Linked DNA regions of Homo sapiens: all the other regions are linked to region 1. The links are contacts of gene promoters, found by promoter capture Hi-C in human tissues and cell types (Jung and others, 2019). All regions are on one chromosome and are shown on one strand. Each heading gives the region's core, a stretch centred on a gene start or on the middle of the fragment in contact. The rest is flanking DNA. Distances are from core to core; before and after follow the strand shown. Region 1 holds the start of ALG2 (ALG2 alpha-1,3/1,6-mannosyltransferase). Region 2 overlaps MSANTD3-TMEFF1 (MSANTD3-TMEFF1 readthrough). Region 3 overlaps INVS (inversin).

Region 1 (5,021 bases), core at 1,369-3,868:
TACTATTAAATAAATAATTTCATTATCATATGTACATTTGATAAATATGTGCTTTTTCTTTTATTTCTTTACAAATTCTCGGATGGCCAAACTTCCCTGCCACAGTATTACCAATTCTCATTAAGCAGAACCATTCCCAAGGAACCGCACCCACAGGACATGTTTTCCATTCCTGCACGAAAAATCTCTAAAACCCAGGGTGGGAAGGGGACAGCACTCAAAGCCCATATAAGTTAAACCACAGCCTGATACACTCCTCATGAACATCCCAATGACAGGGAACTCAAAATCATTCAGGATAATTTTACATTTCTGCCAGTTCTATTAGAATGTCTTTGTTCTGATGTGAAATATTTCATGTAAGTTCAAATCATCAGTTTTAGATTTACCTGTTGCAGCCAGAAAATGTCACATCCCTCTTCACATCCTTCAGAAGTTTCCATGCATGTGTTCAAGATTTTTTCCTCCCTAGATAAAACCCCACTAGTTCCTTCAAAAATCCCAAAACAACTTGGTTGCTTGATTCCTTCCTTCAGTCATTATTTATTGTGTCATGCCTTATGGTGGGTACCTGGGATAGAAATGACTTGAGCAGGTTCTCTGTTAAAGTCTAATGAAGGAGATAAATATGGAAACATCACTGGTCTTATAATGATATGAACAAAATGCTATGGGGGCAAAAGGGAAAACTAGTAGCTACTGCTGCTTACAGACAGAGAAGGCCTCAAGAGGAAATAACCCCTGAGCTTAGTCTTGGAAAATAAGTAGAAATTTGCCTTGAGATGAGGGAGAAAGTTTGTGAATTCAGAAAACAGTAATGGGTTCACGAGTGCTGGATCATAGGACAGCAAAGAAAGATTAGGCTGAAGGCCGGGCGCAGTGGCTCACGCCTGTAATTCCAGCACTTTTGGAGGCAGAGACGGAGGATCACAAGGTCAGGAGATCGAGACCATCCTGGCTAACATGGTGAAACCCCGTCTCTACTAAAAATACAAAAAATTAGCTGGGTGTGGTGGCACGTGCCTGCAGTCTCAGCTACTCAGGAGGCTGAGGCAGGAGAATTGCTTGAACTCTGGAGGCAAAGGCTGTAGTGAGCCGAGATCGTGCCACTGCACTCCAGCCTGGGCGACAGAGTGAGATTCCATCCCAAAAAAAAAAAAAGGAAAAAGAAAGGTTAGGCTGAAATGACCACTAAGAGCTTTGGTATCCCCCCGGTTTTTTTTTTTTGTTTGTTTGTTTTTTTTAGTTCAGCAACAAGTAACAGAAACTACGCAGAAGAGTAACAGCAGAGCGAACGATGGACTGGAAAGCAAACAGCCTGAAGAAAAGGGTTAAGTAGCAAATGCAAAGCAGTAGAAAGGGAAAAGGAAAGAGCTTATGAGAAAGCTTTCAAGCAGAGTTTAAAGTCTGGCATATGACTAGAGAGAGAAAGAGCATAAGAAAAATCCAAGATGACGCTGACGTTTCTGGCTCTGAGTAAATGAGTGTACAACAGTGCCATATGGAAGTAAGGAGATATAATTGAGAGTGAGAGAGCTGAGCTGAAAAGAGACTAAGTTTTGTGTAGGACGAGTTATCTGTAGGACAGATTGCTTATGGGGCCGCCAGATGGAAATGTGAGTGCAAACCTCAGGTCCAGAGACACCAGTTTAATGACATCGGTTTTCTCAAAGTTATCTCTGACTCTATTCCAGTTTGTTAACTTTCCTTTTTTAAGAGTAGTGCCCTAAACTGAGCAACGAGAAAAAAAATGTCGCCTTCCTCCCAAAAGGCCTTTAACTACTCCCACGGCCACGTCACTAGAAGCTCATTTTGCCTTTGTCAATCTTCACATGCTAGGGTCTCCACCCCAGAATCAGCGAGGTTCTGGGTCCTATCTCCGAGTCTGGAAGCGAACGAACTGCAGGGTTCCTTACCTCTGCCGGACAGTGGATCCCGCCGCCCGGGCGGCCACTGCTTTGCTGGGAGAGCGCCCTGAGGATCCCACGTTAGTGCCACTGGGGGTCGGACCAGGCTGTAGAGGGAGACAAGCAGACAGACGGGTGAGCGCGGCAGGCCTGCCCCAGAACCCCGGCCTAGACACCCACACCCGAGGCTGGGGGAAGCAAGGGAGCTACAGAGGAAAAGCACGGCGCAAAGCAGGAGGAGTCAGGGCTTCTGGGAGAGGCGGGGATCATGGAAGGGCCGCCATACCATATTGGAGATGAGGGTGGCAAGGCGCTGACGCGGACGGATAGAAAGTTACGGAGCCCCCGAAAGACCGGCAGCTGGCGAGACTGACTCAGGCCCCGCCCCCGGACTTGCAGGCAAGGTCCTCTCTGACCCCAGGGACGCCTGGGTCGTCTCACGATATGCCTGTAGACAGTCTGCTACAGACAACTTAGTTACCTGCTGTATGGGAAGTAGAGACCTCCGGCCTCCTTCCTTTGGATCACAACGTCCTTCAGAAAGTCCAATCCCTACCGAAGGAAAAATATAACCGGGGTCAGACAAGATATTTTCTCAGGCAGTTACTAGACCCTCACAGATTTGCGCTGATGTGGCCTAACTGACGCACGTACGGCAGGGCGGGGTCGGCCCGCAGTGGCCAGCTGGGAGCTACGAGCGCGGAGCTTGCGCAGAAGACCCCCATCAGGGTGCGGGGTGCAGTTGCGGCTCCAGGGCCATGGCGGAGGAGCAGGGCCGGGAACGGGACTCGGTTCCCAAGCCGTCGGTGCTGTTCCTCCACCCAGACCTGGGCGTGGGCGGCGCTGAGCGGCTGGTGTTGGACGCGGCGCTGGCGCTGCAGGCGCGCGGGTGTAGCGTGAAGATCTGGACAGCGCACTACGACCCGGGCCACTGTTTCGCCGAGAGCCGCGAGCTACCGGTGCGCTGTGCCGGGGACTGGCTGCCGCGAGGCCTGGGCTGGGGCGGCCGCGGCGCCGCCGTCTGCGCCTACGTGCGCATGGTTTTCCTGGCGCTCTACGTGCTGTTCCTCGCCGACGAGGAGTTCGACGTGGTAGTGTGCGACCAGGTGAGGCGGCCGCGGGGCCGGCTGCGCGAGTGCGGACCTCGCCGTGGAGGGCGGCCGCGGGCATGACCCCTGAGAGAAGACCTTCCCTGTCTGCGGTTCGCAAAGATCGGAACTGACATGGAGAAGTCAGGGTTGTGAGCGAGCCTGTGGTTCTCTAACTTTAGTGTGGGCCCATTTAAAGTTGCAGATTGCTGGGGTTCCATCCTCCAGGAAGTTTTCATCCAGGTGCCCTGAGGTGGGGCCCAGACATCTGCATTTTAACTGGGTCATAGGGTGATTCCGAGGTAGATAGTCTTTGGGGCTCTGAGAAACGCTGGTATTAGAAGTCAGCTTCAGTCACCTTTTACTAATGAGTAACTCGCGTGTTGTCTTCCCGCTTACCTGTTATTTTTGTTGACTCTCCTTTCAGGCCATTTGCATCCCACTGTCCTTGTGTTCGGAGCCAGGCCACACCGTCCTCAGCAGTGTCATGTGTTAAAAACGCCAAGCTGAATATATCATGCCCCTATTAAAACTTGTACATGGCTCCCCATTGGTTTTTGGAGAAAAGTTCAAGCTTTTTACCTTGGTAAATAATGTCCACCTGGATCTGCCCTGTAGCTATTCTTGACTCTTTCCTTCGTGCATTTTTCCCCATCCTAAAAAAGATGACTTTAAAAAGTAACATTTACTCGATTAAAAATTTAGTAGTATAGAAGGATGTAACCTAAAAGCCCCGTCCTATTCTACTCCCTGAAGATAGCCACCGTTAAGTTTCTCTTGTATTTTTTCAGAAGTTGTGGTGACACCAGCCTGTGTCTTTTCATAGGTATATCTATATCTTCTTATTGGTACATAATTGGTATTATGACATACCTACTATTAGGCATCTTTTTCAGCAAAAATTTATTTATTTATTTATTTATTTTGAAACGGAGTCTTGCTCTGTCTCCCAGGCTGGAGTGCAGTGGCGCGATCTCGGCTCACTGCAACCTCCGCCTCCAGAGTAGCTGGGAGTACAGGTGCGCGCCCCACGCCCGGCTAATTTTTTCTATTTTTAGTAGAGATGGGGTTTCACCATGTTGGCCAGGCTGGTCTCGAACTCCTGACCTCGCGATCCGCCCACCTCGGCCTCCCAAAGTGCTGGGATTACAGGCATGAGCCACTGCGCCCAGCCGGGACATTCTTATGTATCAATATTAGAGATTCACTTCATTCTTCATAGTGGCCAGAAAATCCACTTTTGTTTAAGTGTGTCATAATTAAACATTCTCCTTAAAGGACACTAATGTTGTGACTAGTTTTTTGTGAATAGATCAGTGTTGTAATGAACATCCTTTTACTTCTTTTTTTTAAAATATTTTTGTACTTCTGCAAATATGTCGTTTGAGGAAATTCCTAAAGTTGGTGGGTCTAAGAGTTGTTCATTTTAAATATCAATAGCTACTGCCAAGTTTGCCTACCAAGGAGGCTGTGTCACTTTACTCCCCCACAATGTATGATAGAGCCTCTTACTCCATGCTTTTGTCCGCCTTGGATATTAACCATTTTAAACTTTGCCAAACTGATAGGTGCAGATGGCATCACATTTGTATTTGTGTTTCTTTAATTATGACTCCTGAGTTACTTTTGATCATCCTTGCTTGCATGGAAGCTTTCTTTTTAAGTAACGTGGACATTTACCAAACATCCTGCATGTGTCAGTAGACATGAGGCAGCTGAGACTATAGTGGGTAGAGGAAAAATTATTGGCTTGGAAATAGGCATCTTGGATTCAAGTTCCGTATCTACTGCTTTAATTAAGTGGCTTTGAATAAATTGCACATTATCCCTAAAGTTACCTTCTTCAGGTTTTAAGTTAGCTGAGACTAAAATGACTTGTAAAGATTACCCAACAAGAAAGTCTGTAGTAATGCCAGCATGTAGTTCATGCTCAATGATGACTAGCTTTAATATTTATTGAGCACATACTGTGTGCTAAACTCCATGTGTTTTGCATATATCAGTGCATTTAATAATCACAAAAAGT
Region 2 (5,021 bases), core at 1,195-3,694, 1.3 Mb before region 1:
GGGACTTATATCTAGAATATATAAATAACTAATACAACTCAATAATAGCCAAAAAATAAAAGAGCAAAGGATGTGTACTGACATTTCTCCAGAGAAGATATACAAATAGCCAATAAGCACATGAAAAGATGCTCAACATCATTAGCCATCATGGAAATAAAAATCAAAGCCACCGTATATGCCAGTTTTTACAGTTACTACGATAGCCTAAATCAAAAAGTCAGATAATTACAAGTGTTGTCAAAGGTACTGTAGGGTGTGTAAAATGGTGCAGCCACTTTGGAAAACGGTCTGGCAGCTCCTCAAAATGTTAAACACAGGGTTACCATTTGGCCCAGCAATTCTACCACTAAGCTTTACCCAAGTGAAATTAAAACACGTTCACACAAAAACTTGCAAATGATCATTCAGAGCAGCATTTTTCATAATAACCATAAAGTGGAAAGAACCTAAATTTTCATCAACTGATGATGAGTAGATTAAAAACATGTGGTGTCATCCATACAATGGAATAGTATTCAGCCACAAAAAGGAATGAAGTACTGATATGTGTTATGACATGGATGAACCTGGAAAATATTACGCTAAGTTAAAAAAAGCTAGACACAGGAGACCCCATACTATATAGTTCAATTTACATGAACTATCCAGAATAGGTAAGTCTATAGAGATAGAAAATAAATTAGCGGATGCCTAGAGCTAGAGAGCATGAGGGGATTTGGGAGTAAAAGCTAAAGGGTATGAGGTGTCCTCTTGAGGAGATGAAAATGTACTAAAATTGATTGTGGTGATGGTTGCACAACTCTGTGCATATATTAAACACCAATGGAGAAGGAAGGAAGGAAGAGAGGGAGGGAAGGAAGGAGGGAGGGAGGACAGTTGACACAAAATACAATCTCCATAAAATAAAATCAAACAAGTCATTCAAAAGAAGCACAGTTATTACTGTTATGAAACTTAAGGGAACTTAATCTCATTGGTCCTCATTTAAAGAGGGCACCTTCTAACATAAAGAACATTATCCTCAACAACACAGCTGCAGTAAATTCAATGATATAATGAAGTCTCATGGGATTTTTTAAATAATGTCCTTCATGGTAGGCTAATGGCCAATAGTCAAAGCTCAGTAATATAAAAACAGTTCCATAAGGAGCTGTAACAATGTCCTAGATATGCAGCTCTCTAATGGTTTGGCTTAAGCCAAAGATTAAAATCAGAGTATCAAAAAGAACCAATAGGCCATATATCATCCCTGCAGTTCTCCCTGGATATCATTTTCTCCAACTGACTTTTGGTTATACTATCTGATATGGTTTGGCTGTGCCCTACCCCAATCCCATCTTGAATAGTAACTCCCACAACTCCCATGTGTCGTGGGAGGAACCCAGTGGGAGGTGATTGAATTATGGGGGCAGGTCTTTCCTGCACTGTTCTTGTGACAGTAAATGAGTCTCACGAGATCTGATGGTTTTAAAAACTGGAGTTTTGCTGCACAGGCCCTCTCTTTACTGGCTGCCATCCAGGTAAGATGTGACTTGCTCCTCTTTGCCTTCCCCCATGATTGTGAGGCCTCCCCAGCCACGTGGAACTGTAAGTCCAATTAAACCCTTTATTTTGTAAATTGCCCAGTCTTGGGTATGTCTTTATTAGCAGTGAAAACAGACTAATACACTCTCCTAATACCTAGAGTACTAACTTCTAGGTTATTACTTCTTCTTCTGTTACTGATTAAAGGCAGATCCAGGGATTCAGTCCTCCACTTTCTATTTTCATCCCAAAACACCTTCCACAGGCAATCCCATTCACTCCCACTGTCTCACGTGTGAATTCATTCACACATCCATTTACCACAATTATTGAGCACCTACTGTGGTGAGCATTTGGGATGTATCAGTGAACAGAACAGATAAAGATCCCTGGCCTGCTTACCAGCTACCGGGAGAAGAGTGTCAATAAACAAAGTAAGTGAATTAAATGGTTATGTTAGAAGGTGATATGCACTACAGGGGATGTGGGGTGTGAGGTGTTAAGGGAAACTGCGAACACCAGGTATGAGCCAGGAAAGTTGCAGGAAGGGAGGGTTGCAATTTTAAATAAGGCAATCCGGGTAGGTTAAGAAGGTAACACGTGAGTAAAGACTTGAAGGAGGTGAGGAGCCTGCCATGCAAACAATTGGAGGACAGCATACCAGGCAAAGGAAGAGCCAGTGCAAGTCCCCTAAAGTGGGAGCATCCATGCATGCATGGCATGCCCAAGAACAGCAAGTGTGGCTGCAGAAGAGGGGGTGAGGGAGAGGAGAGCCAGACAGAGAGGTGAAGAGACAAAACTGTAGGGCCTTCTGCACTTAGTGAGATGAAGGAACCACTGGAAGGATTTTAGCAGAGGAATGATACGAACTGACTTTTATTTTAAAAGGTTCACTCTGCACTGTGGGAGGCCAAGGCAGGTGGATCACCTGAGGTCAGGAATTCGAGACCAGCCTGCGCAACATGATGAAACTGTCTACAAAAAAATGCAAAAATCAGCCTGGCCAACGTGCTGAAACCCTATCTCTACTAAAAATACAAAAAATAGCCAGGTGTGGTGGTGCACGCCTGTAATCCCAGCTATTCAGGAGGCTGAGGCATGAGAATCATTTGAACCCAGGAGGTGGAGGCTGCAGTGACCTGAAATCACACCACTGCACTCCAGCCTGGGCAACAGAGTGAGACCCTGTCTCAAAAAAAAGAAAAAAGAAAAAAGAAAAAAGGCGGGGGCACTCACTGTCTGCTGTTTTGATTATGGACTGTAGAATACAATCACGGAAGCTACTGCAAAAATCCCAGGAAAACATTGGCCTGCACTAGGAACAGCACTGGCAATGGTGAGAAGTAACCAAATTCTGGAGATATTCTGAAACAGAATTCCCAGCTGATTGGATACGAAAGAGAAGTCAGAGATACATCAGAGGGTGTTTTGTCTGAGCAACTGAAAAGATGGAGTTGGAATCAACTGAGATGAAGAAGGTGGCAGGTAAAGCAGGTTTAGGGAGGGAGAGCAGATCAGGAGATCAGCTTTGGTCCTGTTGAGATTGAGGTGTCAGACGTCCATGTGGAAATGTAAAGGAGGCATATGGATCTACGAGTTTCAAATTCAGTAGAGAAGTCTGGGATTTATGTAAATTAGGAGTTATTAGCATATGTCATGGGAAGTCCTGAGACTGGACAGAATCTGTAAGAGAAGAGGACTGGGACTGAACCCGGGTACACTACTACATTGAGAGGTCAAGGAGCAAAGTGGGAAGCAGCCAAGAAAACTGGAACATCCAGCGAAGTAGGAAAAAAACAAGAGACAGTATAATTCTTGACACCAAGTGAAGAATGCATATCACACAGGAGGGGGTGAACAAGTGTGTCAAATGCACTGATCATTCAAAAGTAATTTGAGACTAAGTACTGACCACTGAATTTAGAAATGAGAACAGTCTCAGTGGAGTGTTAGGGACAAAAGTTTGTTGGGGTGAGTTCAAGAGAAATGGGAAGTGAGGAACTGGAGATAGACTTTAGACAACTCTTTTGAGTTCTATGAAGGAAAGGAAACAAACAGGACAGTAACTGGTGGGAATGAGAATGAGGAGTTTTTTTCCAAGATGGAATAAATAAAAGTTTATCAATATATATGAGATATACTGATATCAAGTTCTATGATACAGAGAAACAGGGAGAGGCTTGCTGGTAGGTGATAGTGAAAGTGTGCAAGTTCTCATATTGCTTCCATTTTCTCAGTGAACTTGGAAAGAAGATCAACAGGCAAGAGTGAGGATGAGAGAGGAGGTACTGCTAATCTGAGGAGAGAGGAGAAGGTACAAAGAAATCATACAGGAGAGGAGGAGAATGTATAAACTGCAGGTGTAGAATGACTGCCAGGGCAGCATAAAGGGCCCACCTTGAGACCGATCGGTATGTCAGTGAGACGAGTTAACCGGTGGTGTGCTTTTCACCGACAGCCATGATCAACTGCATGTATAGGTATGCAGTGGGTGGAGAGCTGGGAGGAACCAGGACTACAGTTTTGGCAAGTGAGTATGATGAAGCAATAGAGGAATGTGGGATTCAAATGCAAAGGGAACTACAATGACTGGCCATGGAATTTACACTAACGAGGGGAAGAGAATATCCAGGGAGGGACACGGAAAAGGTGATAGGATCAATAAATGGGAGGGCTAGTGGGATAGAAGAATTGCTAGGTAGAAAGTAAAATGGATATGCTAGAGAGGGAATGATTCTCAAATGTATGTCTTCAATCACATCTCTCTCATCAGTTCCAAAACTAAAATATATCCAGCAGCCCACTAGACATCTGTAAGCGGATATCCCACAGGCATCTTAGACCAAGCACGTCAAACTGAATATATCATTCCCCCTCAAACCTTCTCCCTCTTCCCAATGCATTTCCCACTCAATCCTGTGTTAGCCAGAAAGCCAGGAGACTCTCCTGACTCTTAATCCCACTAACCTCCACCAATCCCCAGGTTCTCGTGCTCATATCCAACCTAACAGGTCGGTCACCAACATCTGTGAGTTCAACCACCTAATGATCTCTCTGCAATCCATTTATTTTCTCAGCCTCACAACTCCTTTATACTTAATTCAGGCCCTTACTTCTTACTAAGTCTCCTAAATTTTCTAATCTACTTTCCACAATGTCACCAGAGTGGCTTTCAGATTTGATCTCATCATTGCTACTTAAAATCCTCTAATCGTCTCTCACTGCCTTTAAAATAAAAGCCAAGCTCCTGGGATGGCCCAAATGTTCCTGTAAGACCTGACCCTTCCTCCAACAATGTCCCCCACCCATCTTCAGGCTGATGTGCCTTTTCTGAAGTCCCAAATCGCCTCATGTATAGCTGTGTATGATAGCATTTTCCATATTATAATTACTTATTTGTCGGTCTCTTTCACCAGGTTGTATGCTTTTTAAAGGCAAGATCCCTGGATCTCTGTCATAGTTGAATTTGACACCCCAATATCAGGGAGAATTTG
Region 3 (5,021 bases), core at 1,544-4,043, 1.0 Mb before region 1:
AAACTCAAATATCATAGTATTAGCATAAACATAAAATTAAAGCCCTCCTCCCCAAAAATATAGGCGCTGAATGTGAAAAGAGGTTTATGTTACATTCACATGTTGTCACTAAATGTGAATTACTTTTATAACAAAAATTTAAAGTGAAGATATGATGTTGAAATTAAAACTAATATTTAACATAAAATAAATTTATATTACTATAATTTAGTTTATAAAACAATGCAACATATCAGTTAGAAATCAAAATAATTAACTAGGAGTTGGGAGTAAACAGTGGAAGGGAAGGCACAGAAATATTCCTATACTCATGAAGTTCCTTTTACTGTTGATCCTTTGAGTCACGTACCTAATAAAGCTGCCCAGTGCAGTGGGGTTCGAAATAAGTTATCATAAGACGTTATATTGCAGCTTTCATATGAGGTCAAGACATCAACCACGGTCACATTCCCATCAGCAACTGCAAAGTGAAGAGGAGTTCGACCCTCGTAGTCTTGCCAGTTCAGTAAAGACTCTGTTGGAGCAGCATCCTGATTTGAAGGAACCAGAGACTTCAGACATACATGGAATCCTCAATAAATTACATTTGGTGTAAGTATTTTTTTCTTTCTTTCTTTTTTAGAGACAGGGTCTTGTTCTGTCACCCAGGTTGGAGTACAGTGGCATGATCACAGCTCACTGCAGCCTCAAACTCCTGGGCTCAAGCAATCCTGCCTCAGCTTCCCAAGTAGCTGGGACTACAGGCACATCCCACCACACCTGGCTAATTTTTGTGTTTTTTGTAGAGATGGGGTATTGCCATGTTTCTCAGGCTGGTCTTGAATTCCTAGGCTCAAGCAATTCTCCTACCTCAGCCTCCCAAAATGCTGGGATTATGGTGTGAGTCACTGTGCCCAGCCTGGCACAGGAATTAACTGAGGAATTTTCGAAATAAGACCTCTACATTATCTCTCAGCACAAGTGATAAATCATGGAAAAGGTACAAAGTCTAAATCTTTAAAAAATTATTTTCATATTTAATTATAAAAAGTACAGAAAATAATATAACCATTACATACTGATTATCTAGATTAAAAAGGTGTCAACATTTTGCCTGATATGCTTTTGTTTCTGTTATCATTCAACTAAAGATGTATGTTTTTATACTTTTGTATATATGTATGTATCCATAAACAATATATAAATTTTGTATGTGTGTTTTCAAATGTTTACATTATGGCAACGGACATGTATCCTTTGGCAATTCTTTCTCTCAACACTATACCTTGGATATCTATGTTGGTAATAGTTCAATTATTGAGGTGCTTGAATAAACCACAATATAGTTATCTATTTTCCTACTGAGGAACATTTAGGCTATTCCCATTTTTTTTCACTATTACAGACAATGCTGCAATTAATGTTTCCTTTACATATCCCTTGTAGCACATGTGTGAGATTTTTCCATAGGCTAGACAGCTAGAAGGGGAACTGCTGGGGTGAAGGATATCTTCAAACAGGTATTGTCACATCACTCTCCAAATGGTCTTACCAATTAACACTCCCATGACAATATGTAAAAGTTTTTATTTCCCTACATGCTGGCAGAAATTAATCATTTGGTATTATCAAGCTTACTGCATTTTTCCCTTATGGTTATGAAAGACATTTCACTGCTATTTTAACTTGTAGTTCATTTATGAATGGGGTTGAGATTTTTTAATCATGTGTTTATTAGTGAGTTCACAATGTTAATTAATTTTTCTACTGGATCTTTATAGCAAGCATTATCAAAATTACCAGGCAGATTTGAAAAAGAACCAAATAGAACTTTTAGAAGTGAAAAATGTCATCACAAAGATTAACAGTTCAATGGATAGGGTAAACAACAGGTTGGACTTATTTGAAGAAAAACTTAGTAAACTCGAAGACAGATCTGATGTCATTACCTAGGACGCAACAGAAAGAGACAAGGAGATGAGAATATAAAAGAGAAGTTAAAAGACATGGAGGATTAGATAAAAAGCCTTAAAAGATATATAATTGGAGACCCTAAAGGCAAGAGTAAAGGGAATGAAGGAGAGGTGATATTTAAAGATAACAGCTATATATGTTTGGCAGAACTGAGATGCAATAATCAGAATGTATACCAAACAGGATTTTTTAAAAAGGCCACACCTAGACACACTGTAGTAAAACTGTAGAATGCCAAACAAAGAGCAAAATGTAAAAGCAGCCTGAGAGAAAAGATACATCATGTATAAAGGAATGACAGACCAATAACAGACTCCTTAAGAGCAATAATAAAAGGCAGAAAGTAGCAAAATAATATGCTGAAAGAGCTGAGAAAAATAGATTCCTAGGACTGTGTACACAGGATAATCATTTTTTTTTCAAGAGGCATACATTCTTAACAATTAAAAAGGAGAGTTGGCTGGGGGTGGTGGCTCATGCCTGTAATCCCAGCACTTTGGGAGGCTGACGTAGGTGGATCACTTGAGGCCAAGAGTTCAAAACCAGTCTGGCCAACATGGTGAAACCCCGTCTCTACTAAAAATATAAAAATTAGCTGTGCGTGGTGGCATGTGCCTGTAGTCCCAGCTACTCAGGAGGATGAAGCAGGAGAATCACTTGAACCCAGGATGCAGAGGTTGCAGTGAGCTGAGATCACATCACTGCACTCCAGCCTGGGAGACAGCCCAAGGCTCTGTCCCAAAAAAACTAAAACCAAACAAACAAAAAACCAGAGAGAGTTGACCACCGAAAGATCTATACTAAAGGGAGTCAAGAGGACAACTCAGCAAGATGGCCAAATAGGAACAGCTCTGGTCTGCAGCTCCCAGTGAGACCAATGCAGAAGGTGAGTGATTTCTGCATTTCCAACTGAGGTGCCCAGTTCATCTCATTGGGACTGGTTAGACAGTGGGTGCAGCCCACAGACGGTGAGCAGAAGCAGGGTAGGGCATCGCCTCACCTGGGAAACACAAAGGATCAGGGAACTCCCTCCCCTAGTCAAGGGAAGCCGTGATGCACAGTGCCGGCAGGGACGGTATCTGGCCCAGATACTACACTTTTTTCACGGTTTTTAGAACCTTCAGACTAGGAGATTCCCTAGGGTGCCTACAGCACCAGGGCCCTAGGTTTCAAGCGCAAAACTGGGTGGCCGTTTGGGCAGACACTGAGCTAGCTTCAGGAGTTCTTTTTTGTACCCCAGTGGCACCTGGAACCCCAGGGAAACAAAACCGTTCACTCCACTGGAAAGGGGGCTGAAGCCAGGGAGCCAAGTGGTTTTGCTCAGTGGGTCCCACCTCCCTGGAGCCCAGAAAGCTAAGATCCACTAGCTTGAAATTCTCGCTGCCAGCACAGCAGTCTGAAGTCAACCTGGGATGCCTGAGCGTGGTGGGGGGAGGGGTGTCACCATTACTGAGGCTTGAGTAGGCGGTTTTCCCCTCACAGTGTAAACAAAGCCTCCAAGAAGTTTGAACTGAGCGGAGCCCACCACAGCGCAGCAAAGCCGCTATAGCCAGACTGCCTTTCTAGATTCTTCCTCTCTGGGCAGGGCATCTCTGAAAGAAAGGCAGCAGTTCCTGTCAGGGGCTTATAGATAAAACTCCCATCTCCCTAGGACAGAGCACCTGGGGAAGGAGTGGCTGTGGGCACAGCTTCAGCAGACTTAAATGTTCCTGCCTGCCAGCTCTGAAGAAAGCAGCAGATCTCCCAACAGAGTGCTTGAGCTCTGCTAAGGGAAAGACTGCCTCCCCAAGTGGGTCCCTGACTCCTGTGCCTCCTCACTGGGAGACACCTCCCAGCAGGGGTCGGCAGACACCTCATACAGGAGAGCCCCAGCTGGAATCTAGCAGTTGCCCATCTGGGACAAAGCATCCAGAGGAAAGAACAGGCAGCAATCTTTACTGTTCCGTAGCCTCTGCTGGTGATACCCACGCAAACAGGGTCTGAAGTGGACTTCCAGCAAACTCCAGCAGGCCCCTAGAAGAGAGGCCTGACTATTAGAAGGAAAACTAACAAACAGAAAGCAATAATATCAACATCAACAAAAAGGACACCCACACAAAAATCCCATCCAAAGGTCATCAGCATCAAAGATCAAAGGTAGATAAATCCATGAAGATGAGGGAAAACCTGTGCAAAAATGCTGAAAATTCCAAAAACCAGAATGCCTCTTCTCCTCCAAAAGATCACAAGTCCTTGCCAGCAAGGGAACAAAAATGGACAGAGAATGAGTTTGATGAATTGACAGAAGAAGACTTCAGAAGGTGGGTAATAAAATCCTCCAAGCTAAAGGAGCATGTTATAACCCAATGCAAGGAAGCTAAGAACCTTGATAAAAGATTACAGGAACTGCTAACTAGAATAACCAGTTTATAGAAGAACATAAATGACCTGATGGAGCTAAAAAACACAGCACGAGAACTTCGTGAAGCATACACAAGTATCAACAGCCGGATCGATCAAGTGGAGGAAAGGATATCAGAGACTGAAGATCAACTTAATGAAATAAAGCATGAAGACAAGGTTAGAGAAAAAATAATGAAAAGGAATGAACAAAGCCTCCAAGAAATATGGGACTATTTCCCAAACCTATGCTGGTGTACCTGAAAGTGATGAGGAGAATGGAACCAAGTTGGAAAACACACTTCAGGATATTATCCAGGAGAACTTCCCTAATCTAGCAAGACAGGCCAATATTCAAATTCAGGAAATACAGAGAACACCATTAAGATGCTCCTCAAGAAGAGCAACCCCAAGACACATAATCATCAGATTCACCAAGGTTCAAATGAAGAAAAAAATGTTAAGGGGCGCCAGACAGAAAGATCAGGTTACCCTTAAAGGGAAACCCATCAGACTTAACAGCAGATCTCTCTGCAGAAACCCTACAAGCCAGAAGAGAGTGGGGGCCAATATTCAACATTCTTAAAGAAAAGAATTTTCAACTCAGAATTTCATATCCAGCCAAACTAAGCTTCATAAGTGAAGGAGAAATAAAATCCTTTACAGATAAGCAAATGCTGAGGGATTTT

The links. The method cuts DNA at HindIII sites, captures the fragments that hold promoters and counts their contacts. A contact is called where the count stands out against the background at its distance.
Region 2: a contact is called between a fragment that was not itself captured here and the fragment with the promoter of ALG2 in region 1, in 1 of the 25 tissues and cell types used here (aorta).
Region 3: a contact is called between a fragment that was not itself captured here and the fragment with the promoter of ALG2 in region 1, in 1 of the 25 tissues and cell types used here (heart left ventricle).

The regions. Positions count from the first base shown.
Region 1 is chr9:99,219,539-99,224,559 of GRCh38, reverse strand. ALG2 (ALG2 alpha-1,3/1,6-mannosyltransferase) reads left to right here and starts at 2,618. Exons shown (of 2, transcript NM_033087.4): 1 at 2,618-3,013. The coding sequence starts at 2,666. SEC61B (SEC61 translocon subunit beta) reads right to left here and starts at 2,278. Exons shown (of 4, transcript NM_006808.3): 1 at 2,194-2,278; 2 at 1,917-2,014. The coding sequence starts at 2,196. RefSeq lists an enhancer at 2,209-2,528. The HindIII fragment of the contact is 4,819 bases long and covers 1-4,108 here.
Region 2 is chr9:100,564,421-100,569,441 of GRCh38, reverse strand. The region is part of intron 8 of MSANTD3-TMEFF1 (MSANTD3-TMEFF1 readthrough); the gene reads right to left. All of the region lies in intron 8 of TMEFF1 (transmembrane protein with EGF like and two follistatin like domains 1), which reads right to left. Among named protein-coding and RNA genes, the nearest start is that of CAVIN4, 11 kb to the left of the region's middle. The HindIII fragment of the contact is 7,104 bases long and covers 1-5,021 here.
Region 3 is chr9:100,235,569-100,240,589 of GRCh38, reverse strand. It overlaps INVS (inversin), which reads right to left. Exons shown (of 17, transcript NM_014425.5): 6 at 350-530. Among named protein-coding and RNA genes, the nearest start is that of TEX10, 110 kb to the left of the region's middle. The HindIII fragment of the contact is 6,226 bases long and covers 1-5,021 here.